Regions from separate parts of the Homo sapiens genome. Here all the other regions are linked to region 1. The links are contacts of gene promoters, found by promoter capture Hi-C in human tissues and cell types (Jung and others, 2019). All regions are on one chromosome and are shown on one strand. The core of a region is centred on a gene start or on the middle of the fragment in contact, and the rest is flanking DNA. Distances in the headings are between cores, read along the strand shown. Region 1 holds the start of PTBP1 (polypyrimidine tract binding protein 1). Region 2 overlaps SBNO2 (strawberry notch homolog 2). Region 3 holds the start of POLR2E (RNA polymerase II, I and III subunit E). Region 4 overlaps TPGS1 (tubulin polyglutamylase complex subunit 1). Region 5 holds the start of CDC34 (cell division cycle 34, ubiquitin conjugating enzyme).

Region 1 (2,873 bases), core at 192-2,691:
GGCCAGGGACTGTAGGGGGCTCGGGCCTCAGTTTCCCCAGCTGTAGGCGGGTGGCTTGGGCCTCAGTTTCCCCACCTGTAGGCGGGCGGCCTTGGATTGTATGGAGCCCGGGCCTCAGTTTCTCCAGCTGTAGGCGGATGGCCGTGGACTGTGTGTGGCCTGGGCCTCAGTTTCCCCCGCTGTAGGCAGATGGCCGTGGACTGTGTGTGGCTTTGGCCTCAGTTTCCCCAGCTGTAGGCGGATGGCCGTGGACTGTGTGTGGCCCGGACCTCAGCTTCCCCAGCTTTAGGCGGTTGGCCGCGGACTGTGCAAAGTCCAGGCCTCAGTTTCCCCAGCTGTAAGCGGGCGGCCGCCCACTGTACAAGGTCCAGGCCTCAGTTTCCCCAGCTGTAGGTGAGAGGCCGCGGACTGTACAAGGTCCAGGCCTCAGTTTCCCCAGCTGTAGGCGGGCGGCCAAGGACTGCAAGGTCCAGGCCTCAGTTTCCCCACCTGTAGGCGGGCGGCCGCGGACTGTACAAGGTCCAGGCCTCAGTTTCCCCAGCTGTAGGTGAGAGGCCGCGGACTGTACAAGGTCCAGGCCTCAGTTTCCCCAGCTGTAGGCGGGCGGCCGCCTACTGTATAAGGTCCAGGCCTCAGTTTCCCCAGCTGTAGGCGGGCGGCCGCGGACTGTACAAGGTCCAGGCCTCAGTTTTCCCAGCTGTAGGCAGCCGGCCGCGGACTGTGCGGGGCCCGGACCTCAGTTTCCCTATCTCCGCAGTCGGGATTCGCTGTTCCGGGGCGAACAAAGAACGGTCGGGGGTGACCCCGGATCATGGCGCGCCCGCAGTATCTGTGGCCACTGTGGAAACAGCCCTGGCGTGTCCGGGACGCGACGCGGCCTTTCCCTCCCCGCGCGATCACCCAGATGTGAGCGCTCAGTTTGAATCGGACTTTTTGGCCATGTGCCCACAACCAACATGGAGCCCTGAGGGTTTCCTGCCCGACTCCAAGATGGCGATGCGACTCCCTTTGCCCTCACGGCCCAGGCGGGCGGGTCCTGCCCACTTGCAAGATGGCGGCAGCCTGGGCAAAGCACGCTTCCCGCCGCCTGACTCGCCACGTACCCACTCTCAAGATGGCGTCTCCCGCAAAGCCACGCGCCAGCTGACTGGCTCAGACGCCGTCACGTGATCCCATTTTCTCCCCCTCCCCCGACTACACAAGCCGTTTCCGCCTTCGGCCTTGAGGAATAACCGCCTCCCCCAATAGGCGCCTGCGATTTCTCTGGGTCCCGCCCCCGGGCGGCCTTCTGGCCAGTGGGAGGTGCTGGCGGGGGCCCGCGGGGCTCTCCCCGCCCCCTGGCTGCAGCGGGAGCCAATGGGCAGCGCGCGCGGGGGACGTGTGCGGGCGTCTCCGCCATTTTGTGAGTCTATAACTCGGAGCCGTTGGGTCGGTTCCTGCTATTCCGGCGCCTCCACTCCGTCCCCCGCGGGTCTGCTCTGTGTGCCATGGACGGGTGAGTCGCACGTCGCCCCGCGCCCCACCGCCCTCCCCGCGCCGCAGCCCTGCCCCCGCCGCCGCGCCGGCCTCCCCGGGGCCGATCTCGCCCCCTCTCGGGCGGGAGGGGGCGGCGGGCTCTCCCCTTCCTCTCCGCGTGGCGGGCGCGGGTGCGGGGCGGGTCAGGGGCTTCCCGGGGGTCTGGCCGCGTCCCCATCCCCCGTCCGGCCCGCTTCCGGCCCCCGCGCGCCCCGTCCCTAGCGCACGCGGCCTCCCGCGCCCCTCCCCCTCCGCGCGCGTCCCCGCACTTCGCCTTTGCCCCGCCTCGGCGGCGCGCGGCCCTTCCCGCTTCCCGTCCGGCCCTCGCGCGCCCGGATGGCCCTTCCCGCCTCCCGTCCGCTCCCCTCGTGCGCCTGCGTAGCCCGTCGCGCGTCCCCGTTGGCCCCAGCGCGCGTGCGCGGCCGCCATCGGGGGCGCGCGCCTTTCCCGCCGCCCGGACTCTGCCCCCGGCGCAGCCCCGGAAGCGCAGGCGGGGCTGGGGCGGCCGCCGGGAGGGAAAGCTGGCGCCGGGGCCTCGCCGCGGGCCCGAGTCTCTGCGCTCCCCGCCCTACCCCTGCCCCCCGTGCGCCCCGGGCCGCGGCCAAGGGGTTTCGGTGATCTCGGGAGAGAAGCGGCCGCCCCGAGGGTCTGTCCTCCGCCCCGGGGCCGGAGGGGCCTCTCCAGGGACCCCCGCGGGCGCCGTCATGGGGAGGGGCCTTCCCGGCTCTCGGGCCGGGGCAGCCTTTCCGGGCGGCTTTGCTGGGCGGGCTTCCCTTGGGAGAGGTGGGAGCCCCCTCCAGAAAGGCCGTGTCCCGCCGAGCGCTTCCTGCGCGAGGCCCTCCCTGGGAATAGGAAGCGGGAGAGGCTGGAGATGTTTCGCATTCTTTCCGTTTTCCTGAGAAGTTTTTCTTGGGTTCAGTCACTTTTAAAAGTCTGTTAAACGTGGTCCGTGCAGTCTGTGGTGTCAGAAGAGGCGCAGCCCTAGAGTGGGTCTGGACCCCTTAGCATGCGTGCGGGCAGGTGGGTCCTGCAGACGGCGAGACGAGGGCTCCCCGCTCTCGGACCCAGCACCGCGGGCTCGGGGGCCGCGCACTCGCCTCCCGGAGTGAGGCAGGAGGCCCGGAGGCTGCCCTTCCGACGGACGCTCCGAGTCACTTAGGGCCTCGCCGGGAGTTGCAGTGGCCGGGAGAAGCCGTGGGGAGCTCACTGTTGGGTCAGGACCTGGCCGGGGCTGAAGGGAGGGCCTCGGACAGTCCGGCTTTCTATCCACCTTCCCCCCGGGGTGTCCCGAGGAGGGAGAGTCGGGTCGGGCGGGGCTCGGGTTGATCAGTAACTGAGGCTGTGTTCTGGTCGGTCTG
Region 2 (2,873 bases), core at 228-2,727, 320 kb after region 1:
TTGCCCATCTTGGTGGAGCCGGCATTCTTGGCTTTGTGACACTCGTCGAACACGATCTGAGGCACACGTGGGTTAAGGAGTATTCTGAAGGACGGGGGCGACCCCAGGAGCCCAGGTCCTGACCACCCAAGACCCCACCTTCCTGGTGGGGGGCAAACGCCTGTGCGGCTGAGAACTCCACGAGGGAAGCCCAGGTCGGAGTGGCAGCCGGCTACCATGGGGGGCGGGCGGGCAGGCGGCCCCCACACGACCATTAGATGGGTGTGGCCTGGGATGGCTCCTCCCAGACTCTAAACAACACACACCGAGGATGGGGCCTCCGGCGAGGAAGGGTGGGATCCCTAAACCATGATATCGCAGGACGTTGCCATCGGAGGAGGATACCTGGAACCTGTTTTCTTTTTTGTTTGTTTTTTTGAGACAGGGTCTTGCTCTGTCACCCACGCTGGAGTGCAGTGATACAATGTCAGCTCACTGCAACCTCTGCCTCTCAGATTCAAGTGATTCTCCTGCTTCAGCCTCCCAAGGAGCTGGGACTACAGGTGTGTGCCACCACCACAACCGGCTAATTTTTGTAGTTTTGGTAGAGACGGGGTTGGCCGTTTGGTTGGCCAGATAATCTCAAACTCCTGACCTCAAGTGACCTGCCTGCCTCAGCCTCCCAAAGTGCTGGGATTACAGGTGTGAGCCGTGCCCAGCCCTAATTCTTTGTTTTTTTTTGAGACGAAGTCTCGCTCTGTCACTAGGCTGGAATGCAGCGGCGCGATCTCAGCTCACTGCAACCTCCGACTCCCTGGTTCAAGCGATTCTCCTGCCTCAGCCTCCTGAGTAGCTGGGATTACAAGTGTGCGCCACCACGCCCGGGTAATTTTTGTATTTTCAGTAGAGACGGGGTTTCACCATATTGGTCAAGACAGTCTGGAACTCTTTTTTTTTTTAGATGAGACACAGTCTCGCTCTGTCGCCTGGGCTGGAGAGCAGTGGGGCAATCTCGGCTCACTGCCACCTCTGCCTCCTGGGTTCAAGCGATTCTCCTGCCTCAGCCTCCCGGGTAGCTGGGATTACAGGTGCGCACCACCACGCCCAGCTAACTTTTGTATTTTTAGTACAGACGTGGTTTCACCATGTTGTCCAGGTGGTCTCGAACTCCTGACCTCGTGATTCGCCTGCCTCGGCCTCCCAAAGTGCTGGGATTACAAGCGTGAGCCACTGCACCCGGCCAGGTTCTTAATATTTTAAGACGAAAGAAAGCCAAGTTCCAGGAAAGCAGTCTGAGGAAGGAAAACTGGGAGAATACAAATTAAACGGCCGGCCCTGCCGCCACGTAGCAGCTCAGCGAGGTATGATCTCAGGGTTATCGCTATTTCGTAGATTGTTGCACATAGATTGTTCAGCCGGGTGCGAAGACACCAGCAGTCTCCCGTTCTGTTTCTGGCCAGTCTGAATGTTCTGTGTCTCGGCGTTAACTGAACAGCAAAGCCATGGCCATGTCCTGTGCATGAAGTGGATGCTGCAGGCCAACGTCCCTCCCTTATCTGAGCCTGTGCTCCCAACACCCCAACACCCAAGGTGCACCCTGCAGGGCCGAGCACCAGGGCTGAGCCTGGCCAAGGGGTGCCCTGCCGTGCCTTTGCTGCTAACTGTCCTGGGTCTCCTGTGGGGGAGCCCCTCCGAACCGCAGCCTGCCGACGAGAGCCCTGGGATGCTGGGGAGTGAACTGTGCCCACCACACTATCAGCTGGGGTTGGCACCTTCCTGACTTGGGGAGCAGCTCAGTGGCCACCCTCTGCCCACGGCATCATGGCAAACATCAGGACCACATCTATGGTCACTCATCCCACTTATCAGAACCAAGAAACCAAGCCGGAGCCCTGTGGTGAATGATGATGGTCACTTGTGTGGTACCCACAGGGCCAGCCTCCCAGGACCAGAAAAGTCTTCTATCCGGAGTCCTAAACCCTGAGCAAAGCTGGGGGCTGGGTGGCCACATCCAGGGTAGTGAGCTCCAGTGGCCTCCAGCCCTTCCCCAGCCCCACCCCTCCGCTCCTACCCTCTCCCATCCTGCCCTCCTCTCCCCTGACTCCCACCCCTCCTCTCCCACTCCTCCATCCTCCTTTTCCCTCCGACCCCCTAATCCAGCCCTCCCCTCCCGATTGCCCCCAGCAGGATACGACGCCCTCGAAGGCCTCCCCACACCAGTCCAGGATCTGCCGGAGGCGAGTGCGGTGCTGGCCGCCGGCCTGGCTCTCCCCAATCAGGGCGGAGTAGGTGGCGAAGAGGACGCCCTCTGAGGTAGTGGTGTCACCGTACTTGATCTGGGGATGCACAGAACAGGTGTGGAATGGGGCCCCGGCTCAGCAGGCTCTGGACCTGGGTCTCCCTATCTGTAAGGGTGCTGGGCAGAGCCTGCCCTGGCTGCTGGCCCACCCAGCTGAGCAGCCCCCACTTTGCAGGGCACGGTCCCCACCTTGCCCCCTACTTTGCCGAGCACAGCCCCTACCTTGCTGAGCGCGTGCACCGCGATGCCCGTGGCTTCGATGTCCCGCAGGTCGCGCTCCGCATCGTACTTGAGGTCGTTGGAGACGCTGAACCTGCGGGGTGGGGGCGTCAGGCGCGCCCACCCTTCCCCCTCGCCCCCCGCTTCCGCCCCCCACCCCCGCTCCCGCCCCCTGCCCCAGGCAGGGCCTCACCACAATGCTTTCTTCCGGCCGCGCAGGTGGTTCTCCAGGATGACTCCGGCCACCGTCCGGCCTTTGCCCACGCCGGCCCCATCGCCGATGAGAAAGCCCGCGCGCTGCCCGCTGGGGAGCAGGACCTCGTGTTGCTGTTGCCGGAGAGCAGGCGTCAGGGCCTGGGGGTGCTGGCCCGGCCCC
Region 3 (2,873 bases), core at 1-2,500, 300 kb after region 1:
CGGCCAAAGCTCGTGACCCGGAAGTCAGACCTGCGGCTGCTGCAGAGGACAGAGGTGAACAGCAAACGGGATGAACACTCACTGTGTGCTCCATGACAGCCACCCCGGCCCCCACAGCCTCACACCACAGGATGGGACCAGTATGATCCTGAGAGGCTCCCAGAGATGTCCAGCCTTGACCAAGACCGTCTGTCCACCCAGCCTCACAGAAACCTGGCAGGGAGCAAAGCCCTCCAAACCACTTTGCAGAGCTACCCTAAAGGCAGGGACAAAGGCGGGGCGCGGAGGCTCACGCCCGTGATCCCAGTACTTAGGGAGGCTGAGGCAGGAGGGTTGCTGGAGGCCAGTTCAAGGATGCAGTGAGCTATGATTGCACCACTGCACTGCAGCCTGGGCGACAGAATGAAACCCTATCTCTTAAAAAAAAAAAATGACAGGGACCGAAACAGATGTGACTTCAGGCTGACAATGTTTGAGGATCGGAGAAAGAAGAATCAGGCTGCGGGGGGCTTCGCTGAGGACAAGGGCAAAGGGTGGGAAGCAAGACAAAGCAAAAGCTCTCAAACGGCCCCAATGGCTGAGGCAATACCCTGAACCGCAGGTCCTCAGGCCTGTGCCCGGCTTCCAAACCGGACTCGACCCAGTGGCCTCCATCTGCCCCAGACCCCAAGGCACGGGTTCCGAGCTCCACGTCCCCATCGAAAGCCCCAGCTCGCCCGCTGCTTCCCAACCACCAACTCTGCCAGCCTCGGATGCTGAAGACTCCATGGGGTTCAGGACGCAAGGACAAATAGCGACGCTGAATCACAGAGAAGGGCAGAGTCTGGGGGCGCCCCCCGTCCCCATTCGCGGCTTCCTCCTCCTCTCGCCGCCACGCGCGCCGCACCAGCCCAAGCCGCCCACCCACCCCTAAGCACCGCACCCAGACGTCTCGAAACCCCCTCCCTTCCCCGCTGCCGGCTCAGGTCGGGTCCAGCGCCTGGTATCCCCGGCGACCTCTGGGCCTCCCGTATCGGCCCGGCCCTTCATCGCTGCTGCTCCGACGAGAGTACGAGGAGACGCCGTGCTCGACCCCACCTCGGGCCCCTACACCCGCCGCCCGCGCCCCCGCCCCCAACACCAGGCGCGGCTCACCTGCATGATGGTCTTGCGGATTTTCCAGAGCCGGTACGTCTCCTCCTCGTCGTCCATGGCAGCCTCCGCCGCCGCCGCCGCTCGCACCCCTTCTCCGCGCGAGAACCCGCGCGGACTGCGCCTGCGCCGAATCCGAATCAGGCCCCCTCCGCCTAACCCCGCCCCGCGCTGGTCTGTCGTCGGCGAATGCCTGAATGCAGCAACGTCTCGGATCGGCAGCGCCAAGGGCAGCCCGAGCCTTACGAGAGCGGCAGTTGGCTGAGCGAGTCTCTCGCCTCCGTAGTTCTCGTGTGTCTTTGGCCGCACAGCCTCTCGGGAGTTGTAGTTTCCGTTCAACTCCCACCTTGGAGCAACAGTTTAGAATCCCACGAGGCGGGGGCGAAGTGTGAGCGGGGAAACTGAGGCCTGGATGGGGTCAAGGGGCAGCTCGGCTCCTAGGGATGGTCTGGGAGCCTAGTGGGAACTCTATAAATATTTGTGCATCAAACTGTACAGGGTTTCCTCCATTGGCTCCTGGCCAGGTCAGGGTTAATTCCCTTGGGCCTCAGTTTCCCTACCTGTGCAATGGCAATAAAGTGTCCCTACTTTAGACGGTTAACTGAGAGTCTTAGGCATCTCTCTAGGTGCTTATTAAGTCCCCTCACCTCTGTCCTCTCCCCTGAGCGCCACCAGCCTAGCCTGGGTATCTCCCCAGCCTAGCCTGGGTATCTCCCCACCCCAGACTCTTCCTGTCTTTGCAAACCTCCTCACTTCCCCAGGTTCACGGAGAACCCCAGCCCAACACTTCCTGTGTGCAGGCTATCAGTAACTTATTCAGTGATGCATTCGTTAATTCAACATTTACTCAGCAACCTACAGTGATGGTGAATAAAACAGGCCAAGTATCCCTTGCATTCAGATAAAGACAGGATTTAGTAAAATATAATAAATAACGTGGCCGGGCGCGGTGGCTCATGCCTATAATCCCAGCACTTTGGGAGGCTGAGGCGGGCAGAGCATGAGATCAGGAGTTCAAGACCATCCTGGCTAACACGGTGAAACCCCGTCTCTACTAAAAATACAAAAAATTAGCTGGGCCAGGTGGCAGGTGCCTGTAGTCTCAGCTACTTAGGAGGCTAAGGCAGGAGAATCTCGTGAACCTGTAAGGTGGAGGTTTCAGTGAGCCAAGATCGTGCCACTGCACTCCAGCCTGGACAACAGAGCAAGACTCTGTCTCAAAAATAAAATGAAATGAAATAAAATAAAATAAATAACAACGTTAGAAAGTGACAAAGCTACGGAAGAAGAAAGAGCAGGGAGGCTAAGTGACATGGGGAGAATGGGAGAACTGCAGTATCACATGGGGAGGTCAGGGAATACAGTGAGGATAGATTCAAGCAAAAATCCCATTAGCAGTGGTGGCTCATCACTGTAATCCCAGCACTTTGGGTGGCCGAGGCAGGCAGAGCATGAGATCAGGAGTTCCAGACCAGCTTGGCCAACATGGTGAAACCCTGTCTCTACTAAAAATACAAAAATTAGCCAGGTTTGGTGGTGGGTGCCTGTACTCCCAGTTACTCGGGAGGCTGAGGCAGGAGAATCACTTGAACCCGGGAGGCGGAGGTTGCAGTGAGCCGAGATCGCACCACTGCACTCCAGCCTGGGTGACAGAGCAAGACTCCATCGAGAAAAAAAAAAAAAAATCCCATTGGGCGCGATAGCTCACACCTGTAATCCCAGCACTTTGGGAAGCTGAGAGG
Region 4 (2,873 bases), core at 188-2,687, 280 kb before region 1:
CCCCCAGCGCATTTTGGGGATGACCTCATGGATGGTAAAAGCGCCCAGCGGATTATAAGGGCCAACAAATGGGGCCTTTACTACTTGGGAGGGAAAAGGAGCGTACAGCCAGATGGGCCTAGAGTTGAATTGCAGGTCGCTGCCCTCCTGCCTCTGGGCCTCAGTTTCCTCCTCCATAGCAGAGCTTTGACCCTCGAGCTCGCTGAGATGGCACGTCCATCCCTAAGCCCTGAACTGAGCAGCAGTGATGACCAGGGAGGCACGTGTTCACCAGGCACCCACCGTGCACCGGCCCAGCATTACTGAGCACCTACTGTGCACCCGCCCAGCATTTACTGAGCACCTACTGCATGCCGGCCCTGCATTACTGAACACCTACTGCACACCAGCCCAGCATTACTGAGCACCTACTGCATACTGGCCCTGCATTACTGAGTACCTACTGCACACCAGCCCAGCATTACTGAGTACCTACTGCACACCAGCCCAGCATTACTGAGTACCTACTGCACACCAGCCCAGCATTACTGAGTACCTACTGCACACCAGCCCCACATTTACTGAGCACCTACTGCACACTGGCCCCACATTTACTGAGCACCTATTGCATCCTGGCCCAGCATTTAGTGAGCACCCACTGCACACAACCCCAGCATTACTGAGCACCTACTGTGCACTAGTCCTGCATTACTGAGCACCTGCTGCACACCAACCTGCCCCGGCCCCACATTTACTGAGCACCTATTGCATGCTGGCCCAGCATTTACTGAGCACCCACTGTACACAGACCCAGCATTACTGAGCACCCACTGCACACTGGCCCCACATTTGCTGAGCACCTACTATGTACCAGCCCTGCATTCACTAAGCACCTACTGTACACCAGCCCTGTATTACTGAGCACCCACTGCACACTGACCCTACATTTACTGAGCACCTATTGCATGCTGGCCCAGCATTTACTTCACTCCCACTGCACACCGCCCCAGCATTACTGAGTACCTACCGTGTACTGGCCCTGCATTCACTGAGCACCTACTCTACACCGGCCCTGTATTACTGAGCACCCACTGCACACCGACCCCACGTTTACTAAGCACCTATTGCTTACTGGCCCAGCATTTACTGAGCACCCACTGCACACCGCCCCAGCATTACTGAGTACCTATTGCACACCAGCCCCACATTTACTGAGCACCTATTGCATTCTGGCCCAGCATCACTGAGCACCTACTGTGTACCAGCCCTGCATTACTGAGCACCTGCTGCACACCAACCCTGCATTTACTGAGCACCTACTGCATGCTGGCTTAGCACTTCCCCGGCACCTACCACAGGTGGCCCACAGAAAGGTGAAGTCGTGTGCCCAGGTCATGCCGGAGGGAAGGCTGCCCTCCTCACCATGAAGCTGAGCTCCCAGAAGGGAAAAGCGTAAGCCCTGAGGTTGGCCACTTCCTCTCTGGGACCCTTGGCCAGACCATGGGGCTGCCCTGAGCCTCAGTTTCCCTATATGTCCCAGAGGAAGTAACAGGCCACTAGCATGAGGCCTGGCCGGGAACTGATGGGGGGAGTGAGGCCAGGGGGTTAAGCAGCCCACCCAGGGTCCTGCAGCGGCCCCCACGCTGGCCACGGTGCTCCCTGGCCACTCCCTGGTGCCCTCCACGGGAGTGTGTGTCACACTACCAGCACACGAGTGGCACGTAGTAAGGCCTCAGGCTCCTCACTGGGGCAGGGAATCGAACCCACCCCAGAGCCGGCAGCAGGGCTGACAGCCTTCTTCTGTAAGGGGCCAGATAGTGAACATTTCAGCTTTGCGTGGCAGCCTCCATCCTGACATTCAGCTCTACGGTTCTGGTCGGAAGCTGCCACAGGCCACATGTCAGCGGACTGATGTGGTTATGTTCCGATAAAGCTTTATTTACAAAAGCAGGCAGCAGGTCGTATTTGACCCTCAGGCTGACTGTGGGGCCTTGCCTGTGGGATTGTGGGGAGAGAAATACCACCACTGGCCCCGAGCAGCAACTGTCACCTGTAATCCCAGCAGTTTGGGAGGCTGAGGCAGGAGGATCGCTTGAGCCCAGGAGGTGGAGGCTGCTGTGAGCCCTGATTGTACCACTGCTCTCCAGCCTGCACAACACAGTGAGACCCTGTCTCAAAAAAAAAAAAAAAAGAAAAAATGCAATGTCAGCTGTGTTAAATGTTCAGCACAGACTGGGCGCAGTGGCTCACACCTGTAATCCCAGCACTTTGGGAGGCCGAGGTGGGCGGACCACGAGGTCACTCGAGATCCAGACCATCCTGGCCGACATGGTGAAACCCCGTCTCTACTAAAAATACAAAAATTAGCTGGGTGTGGTAACACACGCCTGTAATCCCAGCAGCTCAGGAGGCTGAGGCAGGAGAATCGCTTGAACCCGGGAGGTGGAGGTTGCTGTGAGCTGAGATTGTGCCACTGCACTCCAGCCTGACAACAGAGTGAGACACTGTCTCAAAAAAAGAAAGAGGGCCGGGCGCGGTGGCTCACGCCTGTAATCCCAGCACTTTGGGAGGCCGAGGCGGGTGGATCACGAGGTCAGGAGATCGAGACCATCCCGGCTAAAACGGTGAAACCCCGTCTCTACTAAAAATACAAAAAATTAGCCGGGCATAGTGGCGGACGCCTGTAGTCCCAGCTACTTGGGAGGCTGAGGCAGGAGAATGGCGTGAACCCGGGAGGCGGAGCTTGCAGTGAGCCGAGATCCCGCCACTGCACTCCAGCCCGGGCGACAGAGCGAGACTCCGTCTCAAAAAAAAAAAAAAAAGGAAGAAAGAAAGAAAGAAAAGAAAAAAACAAATGTCAGTTGTGTTAAATGTTGGGCACAGTATTTGGCCAC
Region 5 (2,873 bases), core at 194-2,693, 270 kb before region 1:
CACCCGTCACGGGCACGACTCAGGGGAGGCTGGGCTGCCCCGTCCTCACCACGGCCAGTTCTCCCGACCAAGCTTCACAGCAAGGAGCATGTGGGTGTCTGGGCAGCCACTGAGCCAGGTCAGAAGTCAGGTGGGGTCACAGTGATGCCCGGAATCAGCTGGGGTCAAGACTCAGGTGGGCTGGGCGCGGTGGCTCATGCCTATAATCCCAGCATTTGGGAGGCCGACGCAGACGGATCCCTTTATTAGTCCAAACTGCATCCTCCCCTTCCTTTCAAAACCTAACAACACACTTGAGGTCAGGGGTTCGAGACCAGCCTGGCCAACATGGTGAAACCCCATCTCTACTTAAAATACAAAATTAGCCGGACGTGGTGGCGGGCACCTGTAATCTCAGCTACTCGGGAGGCTGAGGCGGACACTAGCTTGAACCCGGGAGGCGGAGGTTGCAGTGAGATTGTGCCACTGCACTCCAGCCTGGGCCACAGAACGAGACTCTGTCTCATTTAAAAAAAAAAAAAAAAAAAAGACTCGGGTAGGACAAAGGTCAGGCTGGGAGGAGGGCACAGCCAGGCTCGGGCTCAGCTTGGGGTGGGGGCTCCGTGGGGCTGGCGCCTCTCCCGGGTCAGGTGCTGAGCCGATGCTGGCCGGCGTAGGCCTCTTTCCCAGTTTCTCTGGGGGGCAGGAGCACCTTGCCAACCTCTGATGGCTCCAGCGCCTGCACTCGCCTCACACCACATGGTGACTTCAACGGGGACCAGGGAAGCCCTCGCCCCTCCCACCCCTCAGAGCCCTCCCCGACCTCGCCCACTTCTCAGAGCTCCCGCTGTCGGGGGAACCGAGGCAGCGCCGCGCCTGGAAGCCAGGTCTGCGGATCCCGCCTCGCTCCCGCCCCTTCCTCCCTTCCGCGTGGCCAGCGCGACCCTAGGACAGACTTCGCGCCCGTCCCCTGCACAGACGGGGAAACGGAGACGGGGACGCGGGGTCGCGCCGGATGGACCGGCCCTGCCCCTCCGGTCCCGGTCAGGACCCCGCGCCGCGCCCCGTTCACCGCCCGCGGCCCCGCCCCGCGCCGGCACGTCACAAAACAACCCCAAAGCCGGGGGACCGGGCCGGTGACGGCGCAGAGCAGCCCTGCCCGCCTCCTTGCGCACAGCGTCCGCGGTGCTGGTCGAGCAGGGGGCGACGGCGGCGGCCTCGGGGATCGGAAGAGCCCGGGGCTGCGCGCTCGAACCCTCCCTCCCGGCGGAGGCGCTCGGCGCCGTAGGCGGGACCGGGGCCGGGACTCCACCTCCCGGCGTCCCCTGCGGCCGGGCGCGCAGGCGCAAGTCGGACCTGGCCGCGGAGCGCAGGCGCAGTCGGGGCCAGGCGGTGCGCGCAGGCGCAGCGGGGGGCGGGGCGCGCGGGCCCGGCCAAGGCAAGCGCCGGTGGGGCGGCGGCGCCAGAGCTGCTGGAGCGCTCGGGGTCCCCGGGCGGCGGCGGCGGCGCAGAGGAGGAGGCAGGCGGCGGCCCCGGTGGCTCCCCCCCGGACGGTGCGCGGCCCGGCCCGTCTCGCGAACTCGCGGTGGTCGCGCGGCCCCGCGCTGCTCCGACCCCGGGCCCCTCCGCCGCCGCCATGGCTCGGCCGCTAGTGCCCAGCTCGCAGAAGGCGCTGCTGCTGGAGCTCAAGGGGCTGCAGGAAGAGCCGGTCGAGGGATTCCGCGTGACACTGGTGGACGAGGGCGATCTATACAACTGGGAGGTGGCCATCTTCGGGCCCCCCAACACCTACTACGAGGGCGGCTACTTCAAGGTGAGCGCGGCGACCCCCGCCCGGGTCCCGGAGCCCACGAGCGACCTCGGGCGCCGGGAACCAGCTCCCTGCCCCGCGGTCCTAGCGCTGTTGCTGGGCGGGCCCCGAAGCCTCCTGGCTTGGGCTCGTTTCCCTTCTATGGCCACGTTCCCCCACCCAGCTCTGCCCGGCCCCCTCCTCGGACCGTCTCGGGGACCTTCAGCCTCTGCTGCAGTCCTCGAAAATCCCCAGTTCCCTTCAAGGCATCGTCCGGTCCCCTGTTAGGCTCTTGGCCCCCGGAGGGGTGGCCGGGGGCCCTCCCTGTAGCATCTGGGCGTGGGGCTCTTGCCCACCTCCTCCTTGGCGGGGGCTGGACCCCGGCTGCCTCCCCCTCCGCCCCTGCGAGAAAGAGGGAGCGGAGCCCAGGCCGCGCCGGCCTTTCAGCTGCCCTCCCCGCCCTCCCCGGAGGAGACAAAGAGGCCCCCCCAGACCCCGTAGCTGCTATTGTTGGGGAGCTGGGCCCGTGAGCGGGGGAGCGAGGCCAGCCTGGGGGTGGCTGGCGCGGCCACTCGCTCAGTCTCCAACAAAGGCCCGGATGAGCCTTGGCAGCCAGGACCCGCCTGGAAAGCGGCCACCCTTGCCAGTAGCAGCCGGCCAGGCGCCCTGGGCTCCATCCCCTGCTTTATGTAACCTGCGCCCTCGGGAAGGCCGAAGTAGGGGCGTGCCTCCCACCTGCTCCCTGCAGCTCTCTCCAGGCCTCCCGGCTCGGGCCCGCGTCCCGGACCCCGACCTCAGAAGCTCCGGGCTCGCTCATCCCAGCTGGTCTTGGCCTTTCTCAGAGTCCACTGAACAGGTGGCTTCTTGGGACCCAAACCCCGAGTTCTGGGCCGTTTCTTCTGCCCTCTGGCGGTTTAATTCCAAGCAGTTTCTGGATGTTTTTGTTGTTGTTGGGAGCGGGGAGGCTGTTTCTGTCTCATGTGAAAAGGACTCAGGCCAAAACCAGGGCAGTTTTCTTGATCTCACGATCCAGACGTGACCTTTGACTTCTTTTAGCGTTCAGGGACCTCGTTCTTGGGGCCAGAGGGACAAAGCGAGGGGCCCT

Evidence for each region. Contacts are between HindIII fragments. The study calls those that stand out against the background at their distance.
Region 2: a fragment that was not itself captured here is called in contact with the fragment with the promoter of PTBP1 in region 1 in 1 of the 25 tissues and cell types used here (dorsolateral prefrontal cortex).
Region 3: the fragment with the promoter of POLR2E here is called in contact with the fragment with the promoter of PTBP1 in region 1 in 1 of the 25 tissues and cell types used here (dorsolateral prefrontal cortex).
Region 4: a contact is called between a fragment that was not itself captured here and the fragment with the promoter of PTBP1 in region 1, in 1 of the 25 tissues and cell types used here (dorsolateral prefrontal cortex).
Region 5: a contact is called between the fragment with the promoter of CDC34 here and the fragment with the promoter of PTBP1 in region 1, in 1 of the 25 tissues and cell types used here (aorta).

Annotation. Positions count from the first base shown.
Region 1 is chr19:796,011-798,883 of GRCh38, forward strand. PTBP1 (polypyrimidine tract binding protein 1) reads left to right here and starts at 1,442. Exons shown (of 15, transcript NM_002819.5): 1 at 1,442-1,495. The coding sequence starts at 1,488. RefSeq lists enhancers at 561-1,196, 849-1,188, 1,395-2,280, 2,281-2,873 and silencers at 1,101-1,455, 1,219-1,568, 1,579-1,758, 1,829-2,138. The HindIII fragment of the contact is 37,831 bases long and covers 1-2,873 here.
Region 2 is chr19:1,119,968-1,122,840 of GRCh38, forward strand. SBNO2 (strawberry notch homolog 2) reads right to left here. Exons shown (of 32, transcript NM_014963.3): 9 at 2,691-2,824; 10 at 2,501-2,591; 11 at 2,172-2,315; 12 at 1-56. Among named protein-coding and RNA genes, the nearest start is that of GPX4, 17 kb to the left of the region's middle. RefSeq lists an enhancer at 2,372-2,873. The HindIII fragment of the contact is 7,332 bases long and covers 1-2,873 here.
Region 3 is chr19:1,094,125-1,096,997 of GRCh38, forward strand. POLR2E (RNA polymerase II, I and III subunit E) reads right to left here and starts at 1,251. Exons shown (of 8, transcript NM_002695.5): 1 at 1,135-1,251. The coding sequence starts at 1,191. RefSeq lists enhancers at 1-437, 1,195-1,284. The HindIII fragment of the contact is 36,385 bases long and covers 1-2,873 here.
Region 4 is chr19:513,247-516,119 of GRCh38, forward strand. The region is part of intron 1 of TPGS1 (tubulin polyglutamylase complex subunit 1); the gene reads left to right. Among named protein-coding and RNA genes, the nearest start is that of MADCAM1-AS1, 6.8 kb to the left of the region's middle. The HindIII fragment of the contact is 7,591 bases long and covers 1-2,873 here.
Region 5 is chr19:530,317-533,189 of GRCh38, forward strand. It overlaps CDC34 (cell division cycle 34, ubiquitin conjugating enzyme), which reads left to right and starts at 1,444. Exons shown (of 5, transcript NM_004359.2): 1 at 1,444-1,792. The coding sequence starts at 1,616. RefSeq lists silencers at 949-1,688, 2,109-2,278 and enhancers at 1,485-2,141, 2,539-2,588, 2,659-2,818. The HindIII fragment of the contact is 13,520 bases long and covers 1-2,873 here.